3 separate regions of the Homo sapiens genome follow, and regions 2 and 3 are each linked to region 1. Evidence: promoter capture Hi-C in human tissues and cell types (Jung and others, 2019). All regions are on one chromosome and are shown on one strand. Each heading gives the region's core, a stretch centred on a gene start or on the middle of the fragment in contact. The rest is flanking DNA. Distances are from core to core; before and after follow the strand shown.

Region 1 (3,877 bases), core at 491-2,990:
AGTTTTTCGTAGCTTTCTTTCCTCCAGATCTATACAAGGTCCATTCCCCCGCCCTCCCCACCCTCCCCAGGTTTTCTCTGTACAAAAATAGTCCCCCAAAAAGAAGTCCAGGATCTCTCTCATAAAAGTTTTCTTGTCGGCATCGCGGTTTTTGCGTGAGTGTGGATGGGATTGGTGTTCTCTTTTGCAGCTGTCATTTGCTGTGGGTGATGGGATTTTTTTTTTTCCTTTTTCTTTTTGAGCGTACCGGGTTTTCTCCATGCTGTTTCTTACTCTCCTCTTTTGCACCCCTCCCATTTCCCTCGTTTTTCTTTGAAAATTTCTCCCCCCTCCAGTTCGCTGTCCGGCCCTCACATGTGTGAGAGGGGCAGTGTGCCGTTAATGGCCGTGCCGGGCACCGGGCCGCTCTGGTAGTGCTGGGACATGTGAAGTCTGCTGGGGGCGGCGGGTTCCGGCACCTCGGCGCCGGGGAGATACATGCTGATCATGTCCCGGAGGTCCCCGGCCTGGCAGGGCGCCCTGGAGTGGGAGGAAGAGGTAACCACAGGGGGGCTGGAGCTGGCCTCGGACTTGACCACCGAACCCATGGAGCCAAGAGCCATGCCAGGGGTGCCCTGCTGCGAGTAGGACATGCTGTAGGTGGGCGAGCCGTTCATGTAGGTCTGCGAGCTGGTCATGGAGTTGTACTGCAGGGCGCTCACGTCGTAGCGGTGCATGGGCTGCATCTGCGCTGCGCCGTGCGCATTGAGGCCCGGGTGCTGCGGGTAGCCCAGCTGGTCCTGCATCATGCTGTAGCTGCCGTTGCTCCAGCCGTTCATGTGCGCGTAACTGTCCATGCGCTGGTTCACGCCCGCGCCCAGGCCGGCGCCCACCCCGACCCCGCTCGCCATGCTATTGCCGCCGGGGGCCAGCAGCCCGCCGGGCAGCGTGTACTTATCCTTCTTCATGAGCGTCTTGGTTTTCCGCCGGGGCCGGTATTTATAATCCGGGTGCTCCTTCATGTGCAGCGCTCGCAGCCGCTTAGCCTCGTCGATGAACGGCCGCTTCTCCGTCTCCGACAAAAGTTTCCACTCGGCGCCCAGGCGCTTGCTGATCTCCGAGTTGTGCATCTTGGGGTTCTCCTGGGCCATCTTGCGCCGCTGCCCGCGGGACCACACCATGAAGGCATTCATGGGCCGCTTGACGCGGTCCGGGCTGTTTTTCTGGTTGCCGCCGGCCGCCGCCGCGGTGGAGTTGCCGCCGCCGCCCCCCGAAGTTTGCTGCGGGCCCGGCGGCTTCAGCTCCGTCTCCATCATGTTGTACATGCGGGCGCTGTGCGCGGGCCCGGCCCGCCGGCGGCCGCCGACCCTCGGCCCGGCCGGGACTTTGGGGGGCCCGCGGGCGGGGGGAGAGGAGGAGGGGAGGCGGGCGGGGGTGTCGGGAGCGCAGGGCTCCGCGAGGAAAATCAGGCGAAGAATAATTTGGGGGAAAAAAAGAGAGAGGCAAACTGGAATCAGGATCAAAAAAAGCGCTTCCCTCCTCCTCTGGCCGATCCTGCCGCCGCCGATGATTGTTATTATTATTTTTTGGAAAGGCTTAAGCCTGGGGCTCAAACTTCTCTCCCTTTCTTTCTCTCTCCTCTTCTTTCTCTCAGTCCTAGTCTTAAAGAGGCAGCAAACTACTTTCCCCCTTTTGCAAACACTCTCTTCTCTGCCTTGACAACTCCTGATACTTTTTTGAACAAGTTAATAGACAACCATCCATGTGACGGGGGCTGTCAGGGAATAAATGGGTTTCTAGCGACCAATCAGCGCGCGGCGGCTCCTCCACTCGAGCCCAGCCTCGCTGCCGGGTTTTGCATGAAAGGGGGCGGGGCCTCCCGCGCCGCCGGCCGCGCGGGGGAGGCCGGGGGAGGAGGGGGCAGGCGAGGAGGGGGAGGAGGCTCCCAGAGCCAGCCTGCCAGCCACTGAGAAACCTTTGTATCCCCTCTCGCAGCAACAGGTCACACCACACGCCTTTTCGAAGGAAGTGGGTAAACAGCACTAAGACTACGTGGGTTTTTTTTTCTTTAAACTTAATATTGATTTACTTTTTGGTGCAGGGTACTTAAATGAGGATGGGACGCGGGAAGCAGCTAAGGTGCGGGGGTGGGGCAGGGCACAGTGGGTGGCTCAGGGCGGCTGTCCAACTCGTATTTCTGGAAACAGCCAGTGCAGGAGTTGGTGTGTCATTGTTCTCCCGCTCATCCACAGCACTCCCCCCCAACTCCAGCCCCTCTGGTGCCGCTCCCGTACTGCGCTCTTCCGCTCTCCTCTCTTACCTTACAGGTGCCAACACTCTCTCACGCCCTTCTCACAGTCCCGACTAGAAGTTAGGAGACCCAAACCTCTGTCCTCAAAACCTTCCTTGCTTCCACGTAACTTGCTCTGTTCTTAAAAATAAATCCTGCTCGGACCATAAGGCAGACTCTAGAGCTGAGAACCAGCAGGCCTTGGTAAGCTGCCATCTCCCTGTCCAACTCAGCTCTTTGGCCCAGGAAACTGCAGCTCTTCCTCTTAGCCCCAGCCACATCTCCCACTAGACTGTCTTCATTCAACCGTAGCAAAGGGGATGCTTCTACTGTCTGCCCCCACTCCCCATTCCCATCCCATGCCTCCCCGTAAGAAGGGTTTCGGTCGTGCGGCTTTCAAATGGGGGCTGGGGAAAGACACAGACGGAAGGGCGCTCAAAAGTGCAGGCGATGGGGGAGGGTGATTTCAACTTCCTGGCATCCCACGGCACTGTATGGAGGTGGCTTTTGGGCCGCAGTCACAAACTCCCTCCCACGCAGAGTTCCCAGGACTCCAGCAGAACCAGCCCTGGCATTTTCCCCGTAGATTTCCATTGTGGTGGCCGCAAAGCCCAGGCCGCGCAAGGCTGGGGCTGCGCCGCAAAGGGGCTCAAGGCCTGGGAGGCGGGGTCGATGCTCTCCAGGCACAGGTGCAGGCAGCGCACACTGGGAGAAGGCGGCCGGGACTGGGGAAGGGGGAGCCCAGCAAGGCCCGGGTTAGAGGAGGATGAGATGGGGGCGGGGGTAGGGGCTCAGGAATCTTGCCCGCCCAGGACCCAAGAGGGTAATTTTAGCCGCTCTCCCATTGTCCCGACGTAAAGATTTCAATAGGTAGGCGCTCAATGCGGAGGGCAATGGCAGCACGTCCGTTACAAATAGGTAGTTTTGTTTCTCTTGTTGTCGCTACACGGAGTCAAACAAAGCCTCGTCTAAGTTTCCTTCCACTCTCTTGTTGGGATCTTTGTGGCTAAAATGCACTTGACTACAAAGGGTGGGGTGGGGGGGAATAAAGAAAAAAAAACCTGATGCCATTTCTTTTTTATAAAGGGCTTAAACCATCAGGGTTACTTATTTTCTTTCTTCTGTAACACTCTCTCCGCCCCCTCCTCCCCTGGTCTACCCTTACTCACCCTAAGAAAATGTACTGAATAGTATCTACCAGCCACGTTCCATTTATTATCTTTACAAAACGGTGCATTGTTTTGTTCCTTACTAACCTTCTTCCCATAATCACTCCCCCGACCCCCAATTTCTCCAATCTCTGCCCTCCCTAGCCTGTTACTGTCAAACTCACACTAAATATACCCACTGGAAACTCAGAAAAGTTGTAAAAAAAAGAATTCTGCAGACTTTCCTTAAGTTATTTCCAATCAACCTTCCTGCCCCCCGAAGGTTCTCCTTTTTCTCTCAAGTTATGGCTTGTTTTAGTTCTTGGGAACCCGGAAAGGGTGAGATTGGGTTTCTCAAAATGCATACATATTCGGCGCTCTTCAAAATACAGCACTGTTTTCTGTTTAATCCAGGTGTAATATTAAGGTAAACACGGACCTGGAGATTAGGAAAGAGAAA
Region 2 (3,877 bases), core at 866-3,365, 1.1 Mb after region 1:
ATAGGATTATTTTAAATATCTGAGTATATAATTTAATGTAAGATATATATAATACAGCATGTATTTAATATTTTTGTCAATATTTAAAACATACATTTATATACCTTTTTTCTTTTTTGCAGAATGATCTTTATTTTATCAAGAAGGCACATAGTAAAAACAGTGATGAAAAACAGTCCCTTATGACCAAAATAAATGAACTAAACCTTTTCATCGACAGATCAGAGAAAGAACTTGATAAAGCCAAAGGTTTTAAGCAGGTGCAGTAAAATTGTATGCATATGTAGTATTGAAAACCATGTTTCCATGTTAATTGTAGACAAATGAAAAAATATAGCAAATTATGAAAAAGAAAATGTCACTATAATCACTATACCCAATATAAACAGTGTTAAAGTCTATAATTTCCCTCCAGTCTTGTAAAGAAATTTGGCTTTTTATGTTGTATTAAAAAATTTCTATATATCATATGCTTCCTAAAACATTAACTATTCTTTCAAAAACATTTTTGAAGGCTTTCTATAAGTCCATTGCATGAAATTACCATAGTTTATTTAACCATCCCCTATTTTTTAGATTTTTGTTTCTTTCTAATGCTTGGCTATTGTAAATAGTACTACATGTACAGTGCAGTTGTTCAATTAGTTGTTCATTGTGCAGTTATTCAGTTAGTTCCTTTGGATAAATTCCTAGCTATATAATTATGATTCAGAAAGAAATGAATATTTTTAGCGTCTTGAAACAATTTTTAAGCCCAATTCTCTTCTAGAGGGTACCATTAATACTCCTATCAGTAGTATGTAAGCATTCTATTTTATTCACTACCACTGAGGCTGGATATCCTAATTTAAAAAATTGTTGCCAATTTGATAAACATGGTATCTCATTGTTTTAGTCTGCATTTTTAAAATTGGTGGTTTAAAAATATTTTGTTTAATGATACATTTTCAAACATTTATGTTTAAATAAAAATGTTTAAAACACTTTTCTCTGTTATGTCATGTTCCATATTTTTTTTCTTTGGAGCTCTAGTTTGTATTCTTGGCCCATTTTTTTTCCGCTGGGAAGTTTACATATATAAATTATAAAAGATTTTCATATGTAAAAATATTGTCTCTGTCGGCCGGGCACGGTGGCTCACACCTGTAATCCCAGCACTTTGGGAGGCCGAGGCGGGTGGATCATGAGGTCAGGAGATCGAGACCATCCTGGCTAACATGGTGAAACCCCATCTCTACTAAAAATACAAAAAATTAGCCGGGCGTGGTGGCGGGCGCCTATAGTCCCAGCTACTCCGGAGGCTGAGGCAGGAGAATGGCGTGAACCCAGGAGGTGGGGCTTGCAGTAAGCGGAGATCGCACCACTGCGCTCCAGCCTGGGCGACAGAGTAAGACTCCGTCTCAAAAAAAAAAAAAAATTATCTCTGTCATAAATATTGTAAATATTTTCCCCATTTACCTTTACATTTTTATTCAGTGTTTGTGACACAAAACTTTTTTTAAAACATCAAATCTCTTAGTTTTTTTTTCTTTTTAATTTTTATGCTTAGAAACTTCTTGGTTACACTAAAAATCAGACAAATGTTTACTATTTCTAGTAGTTACGTTGATTTCATCTCTTAAGATTTTTCATTCATCTAGAATATATTTTTGGTGCACGTGAGATGTAAGTATCTAATCTCTCCAAATGAAAAGCCACGTTTATGAAACAATAAAATCTTATATCCTGGAGTGTTTTTTTCTGGGGTTTCTATTCTGAAAATTGATTGATATGTGTACTCTTATGTCAGTACTCTATTCACGACTGAATTGTTTTAAAATAAAAATATATTTCCACATTATTTTGTGAGATTCAGAGTATAAAAATGGCCATTCATAGGGCTTTATGTTTTTTGGATAGCGTAAGTTTAACTTCAGGAATAACTTCTTCCCTTTGTTTTTTATAATAGCAAAGCTTGACTTTAAAATTGAATTATGAAAAAGATTTGGAATAACTATAAACCCTTTTCTTAAAAGAAAAAAAAAAACTATGATCAATTTTAGGCCTAGCTAATATCTTAGTCAATGGTTAAATTGGAAAAAGGTATATTTTCAAGTTTTACTTATATAGCAATAAAAAAAATTTTGGTTTTGCAATTAAAAATAATTTCAATATTTGACCATTTTGTTACGTTGATAGGATTTGATGATAGAGGACAATCTTTTAAAACTTGAAGTTAAGCGTACTCGAGAAATGCTTCACAGTAAGGCAGAAGAAGTTCTTTCCCTAGAAAAAAGAAAACAGCAATTATACACAGCAATGGAAGAGCGAACTGAAGAAATCAAGGTTCATAAAACAATGCTTGCGTCACAAATAAGATATGTTGATCAAGAACGGGAAAACATAAGGTAATTTTCAGTTTTAAAACTGCTGAGGAATTAAAAAAACAGGATGATGTCAGGAGAACTAGCTGCCCCCTCTAACATCCCGGATGTGCATCGTTTTTACTCATTCGAAATGGCTTTTCATATAAGAAAGACATAGGGCATGTTATAGCCATAAATCTAGGCTCTTCTTTTGGTTAATTCTTCATTCTTTAGATTGTCCCTTTTACATTAAGATCACTAATCTACTTGGAATTGCTTTTTATGTATGGTTTGTGGTAAAGTCCAATAACACGTCTTTTTAAAAATAGATATTCAATAGCTGCATCTATTGAAGTGATTTTGCACATCTTTTATAAGATTATTTCTGGCTACATGTTTTTTCTTTAATGTTACTGTCAATTTCATTTTTGGTTTGCTGCTGGTATGTAGAAATGCAGTTAATTTCTGTATATTAAGTATTCAGCAACCCTGCTTAACAATCTTGTTCTAACAATCAGTACATTCTAATTTTCTATATACTGTATTTCATTTATATTATTTTCAAATAATAACAGTTTTATTTCTTGCTTTCCAATCTTTATAACTTTTCTTTTTTCCCCAGTTCAATACTGAAGAGCAGTGTTGATTACAGGTATCCTTGTCTTATTATCTGATCTCAAAGGGAAAGCTTTCATTGTTTTTGCATTAAATATAAGGTTTACTGTAGTTTATTTCTATTTTTTAGATACCTTTTACCACATTGAGCTCCTATCTATTTTTATCCTTTACTAAGAAGTTATTTTGTTTAATCAAGAATGGATGTTGACTTTTATTATATGCTTTCTCAGCACTTATTGACAAGATGTATCTTCTTCAATCTGTTGTGTTTAATCATATTGATCAATTTTTCAAAGTCAAACCAACCTTACATTCTAGAATAAACCCAACTTGTCTGTTACATATTATCTTTTGCATACATCTAGATTTTGTTAGGGAATATTTTAATACAATTTTTGCATCTATGTTCATGTGTATAAATGACCCATAATTCTCCTTGCTCTACTGTCCTTGTCAGGGTATCAGGCTATTAAGGTTATGTCTGACTTCATAAAATGACTTGTGTGTATTTCTTATTTTTCTATACATTGAATATGTTTCTAAAAGAGTGGAATTATATCTTTTTTGTTTTTCAAAGACCCCACTGGAAAAAAAAGCCATTGGGAGCCTGAAGTTTTCTATGGGGGAACATTTTCAACTATTGGTTTATATACTGTTTATAGGACAATGCAGATTTTGTATTTATTATTGATTCTGTTTTGGTAAATTCTATTTTTCTCTAGGAAAAATTTTCTATATTTATCCAAATTTCAAATTTATTGCCATACAGTTGTTTATAATTTTATTAGTTAATAGTTGTAGTATTTTTAGAGATGATTCCTTTTATATTCCTGACATTGGTTATTTGTGCATTCTTTTGGGGTAGGATAATTCTCACCACAAGTTAATCAGTATTAACATTATTTGGAAAGGAT
Region 3 (3,877 bases), core at 921-3,420, 1.0 Mb before region 1:
CCGGGAGGAGGCCCAGGAGAAAAAGAGAAGCACAAGAGAAAGACTAAGGCTCTAGTGGCCGCTTTGCAGCCTTGCAGAATTCAGCATCCCCAGGGAGCATCCACTCATCACTATCAGTGTGGCAAGCTAGTGCACTTTAAGAATTGCCTAGGCAACAAGAAAAAGCCACCTCAATGCTGTCCAGCATGTGGTGGAGATCACTGGAGATCAGACTGCCCCTGGGGACAGAAGTCACCTGGTCCAGAACCAGTCTCACAGAGGATCCAGCAGGACTGATGGATTCTGGGGCCCAAACCCCCGGCTCCAGCGGCTCAGGCTGCCATCATGCTCAGCAGCCCTGGGTGATTCTGGAAATTGAAGGGAGGAGGGTGGGCCTCCTCCTGGATACTGAAGCTAGTCTCTCTGTCCTCTCCAATCCAGGCCTCCCCTCTTCCCATAGCACAACCGTGGTGGGTATCTCAGCAAAGACTCTAATCCGACATTTCTCTCAACCCCTTAGCTGTAGTTGTGGGTACTTATTATCTACACATACCTTCTTGATTATGCCTGACCTTCCCACTCGTTCATTAGATAGAGACATTTCAGCCCACATGGGGGTCTACATCCTCATGGCCCCAGGATAAACTCTTTGTCTTCTCTTAGTGGAAGCCAATATTAATCTAAAAGTGTGGGCAACTCAAGAAAGAGTGGGTTGAGCTAAAACTGCTAGGCCAGTTCAAATGCACCTTCTTTTCCTAACCTGAGACAATATCCCCTAAGGCCAGAAGCCAGGAAAGGGCTAGAAGCTATTATTAATAACCTGAAAATGCAGGGCCTCCTCAGACCCTGCAGCAGTCCTTGCAACACTCCGATACTAGGAGTGCAAAAGCCCAATGGGGAATGGAGCCTAGTTCAGGACCTTCGTCTCATGAATGAGGCCATAGTCCCAATTCATCCAGTGGTCCCTAATCCCTGCACCTTGCTGACACAGATACCGCAGGAAACTAAATGGTTTATAGTCCTAAATTTAAAGGATGCCTTTTTCTGCATACTGTTACATCCTGACTCTCAATACCTGTTTGCCTTTGAGGATTCCCCCCAGTCAGACCGCCCAGTTAACATGGATGGTGCTGCCTGAGGGATTTCAAAACAGCCCTCACTTGTTTGGACAAGCACTGTCAAAGGACCTTTCTAAGTTCTCCCATCCTCAGGTCAGGGTCTTGCAGTGTGTAAATGACACTTTCCTCTGTGCCCCAATCAAGAAAGTCTCAGGAAGGCACTTAGACTCTCCTCAATTTCTTAGCTAAAAGAAGTATAGGGTTGGCCGGGCGCGGTGGCTCACGCTTGTAATCCCAGAACTTTGGGAGGCCTAGGTGGGTGGATCACTTGAGGACAGGAGTTCGAGACCAGCCTGGCCAACATGGTGAAACCTGTCTCTACTAAAAATACAAAAAAAAAAAATTAGCTGGGCATGGTGATGGGCACCTGTAATCCCAGCTACTCAGGAGGCTGAGGCAGGAGAATCTCTTGAACCCAAAAGGAGGAGGTTGCAGTGAGCCGAGATCACACCATTGCAGTCCAGCCTGGACAACAATAGTGAAACTCTGTCTCAAAAAAAAAAAAAAAAAAAAAAGAAGAATAGGGTCTCAAAATCTAAAGCTCAGCTCTCTCAGAATTCAGCAAAGTACCTAGTTCTGGTCTTATCAAAAGGGAGCAGAGCACCTGGTGAGGAAAGGATTAAGCCCATTTCCTTTAACAGTTAAGAAAATTCTTAGGCATTATTGGATTTTGTAGACTGTAAGTACCTGGGCACAGGAAAGTAGCTCATCCTTTATACCACCTCATAAAAGAAACTCAGACAGTTAAAACTCAACCCCCTTTAGGAACCTAAAAACACAAAAGCCTTAAACTAGCTAAAGCAAGCCTTACTTAAAGCAACAGTTCTGGCCAGGTGAGGTGGCTCACGCCTGTAATGCCAGCAATTTGGGAGGCTGAGGAGGGTGGATCACAAAGTCAAGAGATCAAGACCATACTGGCCAACATGGTGAAACCCCGTCTCTACTAAAAATACAAAAATTAGCTGAGCGTGGTGGCACGTGTCTGTAGTCCCAGCTACTAGGGAGGCTGAGGCAGGAGAATCGCTTGAACCCAGGAGGCAGAGGTTGCAGTGAGCCGAGATAGCGCCACTGCACTCCAGCCTGGCGACAGAGCGAGACTCGGTCTCCCCCCCAAAAAAAGGACCAGTTCTTAGTCTTCCCATAGGGAAGGTATTTAATCTTTATGTATTGAAAAGGAAGAAAATAGCCCTGAAAGTTTTAACTAGGGCTTGAGGTCCAGCTCAACAGCCAGTGGGTTACTTAAGCAAGGATCTTAACTTGGTGGCTTAAGAATAGTCAGCCTGCCTCCAAGCAGTTACAGTGGTGGCTTTGCTGGTGCCAGAAACCTCTGGGTTAACCATGGGAAATAACTTAGCTGTGCCAGGCGCGGTGGCTCACGCCTGTAATCCCAGCACTTTGGGAGGCCGAGGCGGGCGGATCACGAGGTCAGGAGATCGAGACCATCCTGGTTAACACGATGAAACCCCGTCTCTACTAAAAATACAAAAAAATTAGCCGGGCGTGATGGCGGGCGCCTGTAGTCCCAGCTACTCGGGAGGCTGAGGCAGGAGAATGGCGTGAACCCGGGAGGTGGAGCTTGCAGTGAGCCGAGATCGCGCCAAGGCACTCCAGCCTGGGTGACAGAACGAGACTCCGTCTCAAAAAAAAAAAAAAAAAAAAAAAAAAAGAAATAACTTCGCTGTTTAACCCCACACAATATAACAGGAATGTTGTCCACTAAGGAAAGTCTCTGGCTAACAGACAATTGCCTCCTCAAATATCAAGCTTTGCTGCTAAAGGGATCTGCAGGCCAGTTAAAAACCCACCCTTGCCTGAGCCCAGTCACTTTCTCCCAGAGAAAACTGGAGAACCTGAACATAATTGTGAACAGGTAGTGGTGCAAACTGGAAAAACAAATGGTAAGAATTACTGCTTATCTTATCTGCAAAGTGTTAATTCGTGAAAAAGGATTTTCTTAAAGAGCACTCAGCTTAATTAAAAATGGATATCCAAGCTATAAGTACATCCAAAAGGCCTTCATGTTTTTCTCTTCATAAATCTAGTTTTCCTGGAAAAGGTTTTTTTTCTCACTCGACTGAATTACTTTTCTCCACTCTGTCTTGCCACTCTTGTTGCATGCATGAAAGCCCCTAGAATGACTTCTGGTGGCCTGGGCTGCCTTGGGACATCAGAAAAGGTGCCACAAATTCCATTCTGGGAAAAATCTCTGTTTTCCTTATGGAACCCCTGGAATTAGAGGTGAGTAAGTACCTCTCCAAATCTGTCCTTGTCTTCTGGCTATGCTTGTTTATTAGGCCCTGGAAATTGTACTCCTAGCCCTGTTCTTATAGGGCCTCACCCAGAGGCCAATAATCTAATTGGGAAATTGGCAAATGTAAGTTTTATAACTACTGGATCTTATTCTGTTTGTCTGTGTGGTTATATATGTGTTATGTGTGCAATGTCTATTAAAAAGAGCTCTAATTAATTGGCCTAAGAAAAATAAGCACTTAAATCAAATATTTTTAAAGGAAAAGTAAAAGCTGTGGTACCTTTCAGATCACATGACTTTAATCTTTAAAAATAAAAGCGGTCTTAGGAATTATTGGTAAAATACAAATGTCTTCAAGGTGTAAAAATGTGGTCTAAATTATGCAGGTCAGATACTAGGTTTGCTAAATGTTTTAAGGTTGTAAAGTGCTTCTTTTTTTTTTTGTTTTTTGTTTTTTTGAGAGAGTCTTGCTCTGTCACCCAGGCTGGGGTGCAGTGGCCTGATCTCGGCTCACTGCAAGCTCCGCCTC

What was found. The method cuts DNA at HindIII sites, captures the fragments that hold promoters and counts their contacts. A contact is called where the count stands out against the background at its distance.
Region 2: a fragment that was not itself captured here is called in contact with the fragment with the promoter of SOX2 in region 1 in 1 of the 25 tissues and cell types used here (lymphoblastoid cells).
Region 3: a contact is called between a fragment that was not itself captured here and the fragment with the promoter of SOX2 in region 1, in 1 of the 25 tissues and cell types used here (pancreas).

What each region holds. Positions count from the first base shown.
Region 1 is chr3:181,709,788-181,713,664 of GRCh38, reverse strand. SOX2 (SRY-box transcription factor 2) reads right to left here and starts at 1,740. Exons shown (of 1, transcript NM_003106.4): 1 at 1-1,740. The coding sequence starts at 1,304. The coding sequence ends at 351. The region is part of intron 6 of SOX2-OT (SOX2 overlapping transcript); the gene reads right to left. RefSeq lists enhancers at 1-750, 751-1,604, 1,605-2,457, 2,458-3,311, a silencer at 1,840-1,899 and a promoter at 1,479-2,512. The HindIII fragment of the contact is 19,833 bases long and covers 1-3,877 here.
Region 2 is chr3:180,640,503-180,644,379 of GRCh38, reverse strand. CCDC39 (coiled-coil domain 39 molecular ruler complex subunit) reads left to right here. Exons shown (of 20, transcript NM_181426.2): 12 at 123-260; 13 at 2,179-2,387. Among named protein-coding and RNA genes, the nearest start is that of CCDC39, 37 kb to the left of the region's middle. The HindIII fragment of the contact is 4,981 bases long and covers 1-3,877 here.
Region 3 is chr3:182,719,360-182,723,236 of GRCh38, reverse strand. No RefSeq gene overlaps it. Among named protein-coding and RNA genes, the nearest start is that of ATP11B-DT, 72 kb to the left of the region's middle. The HindIII fragment of the contact is 5,156 bases long and covers 1-3,877 here.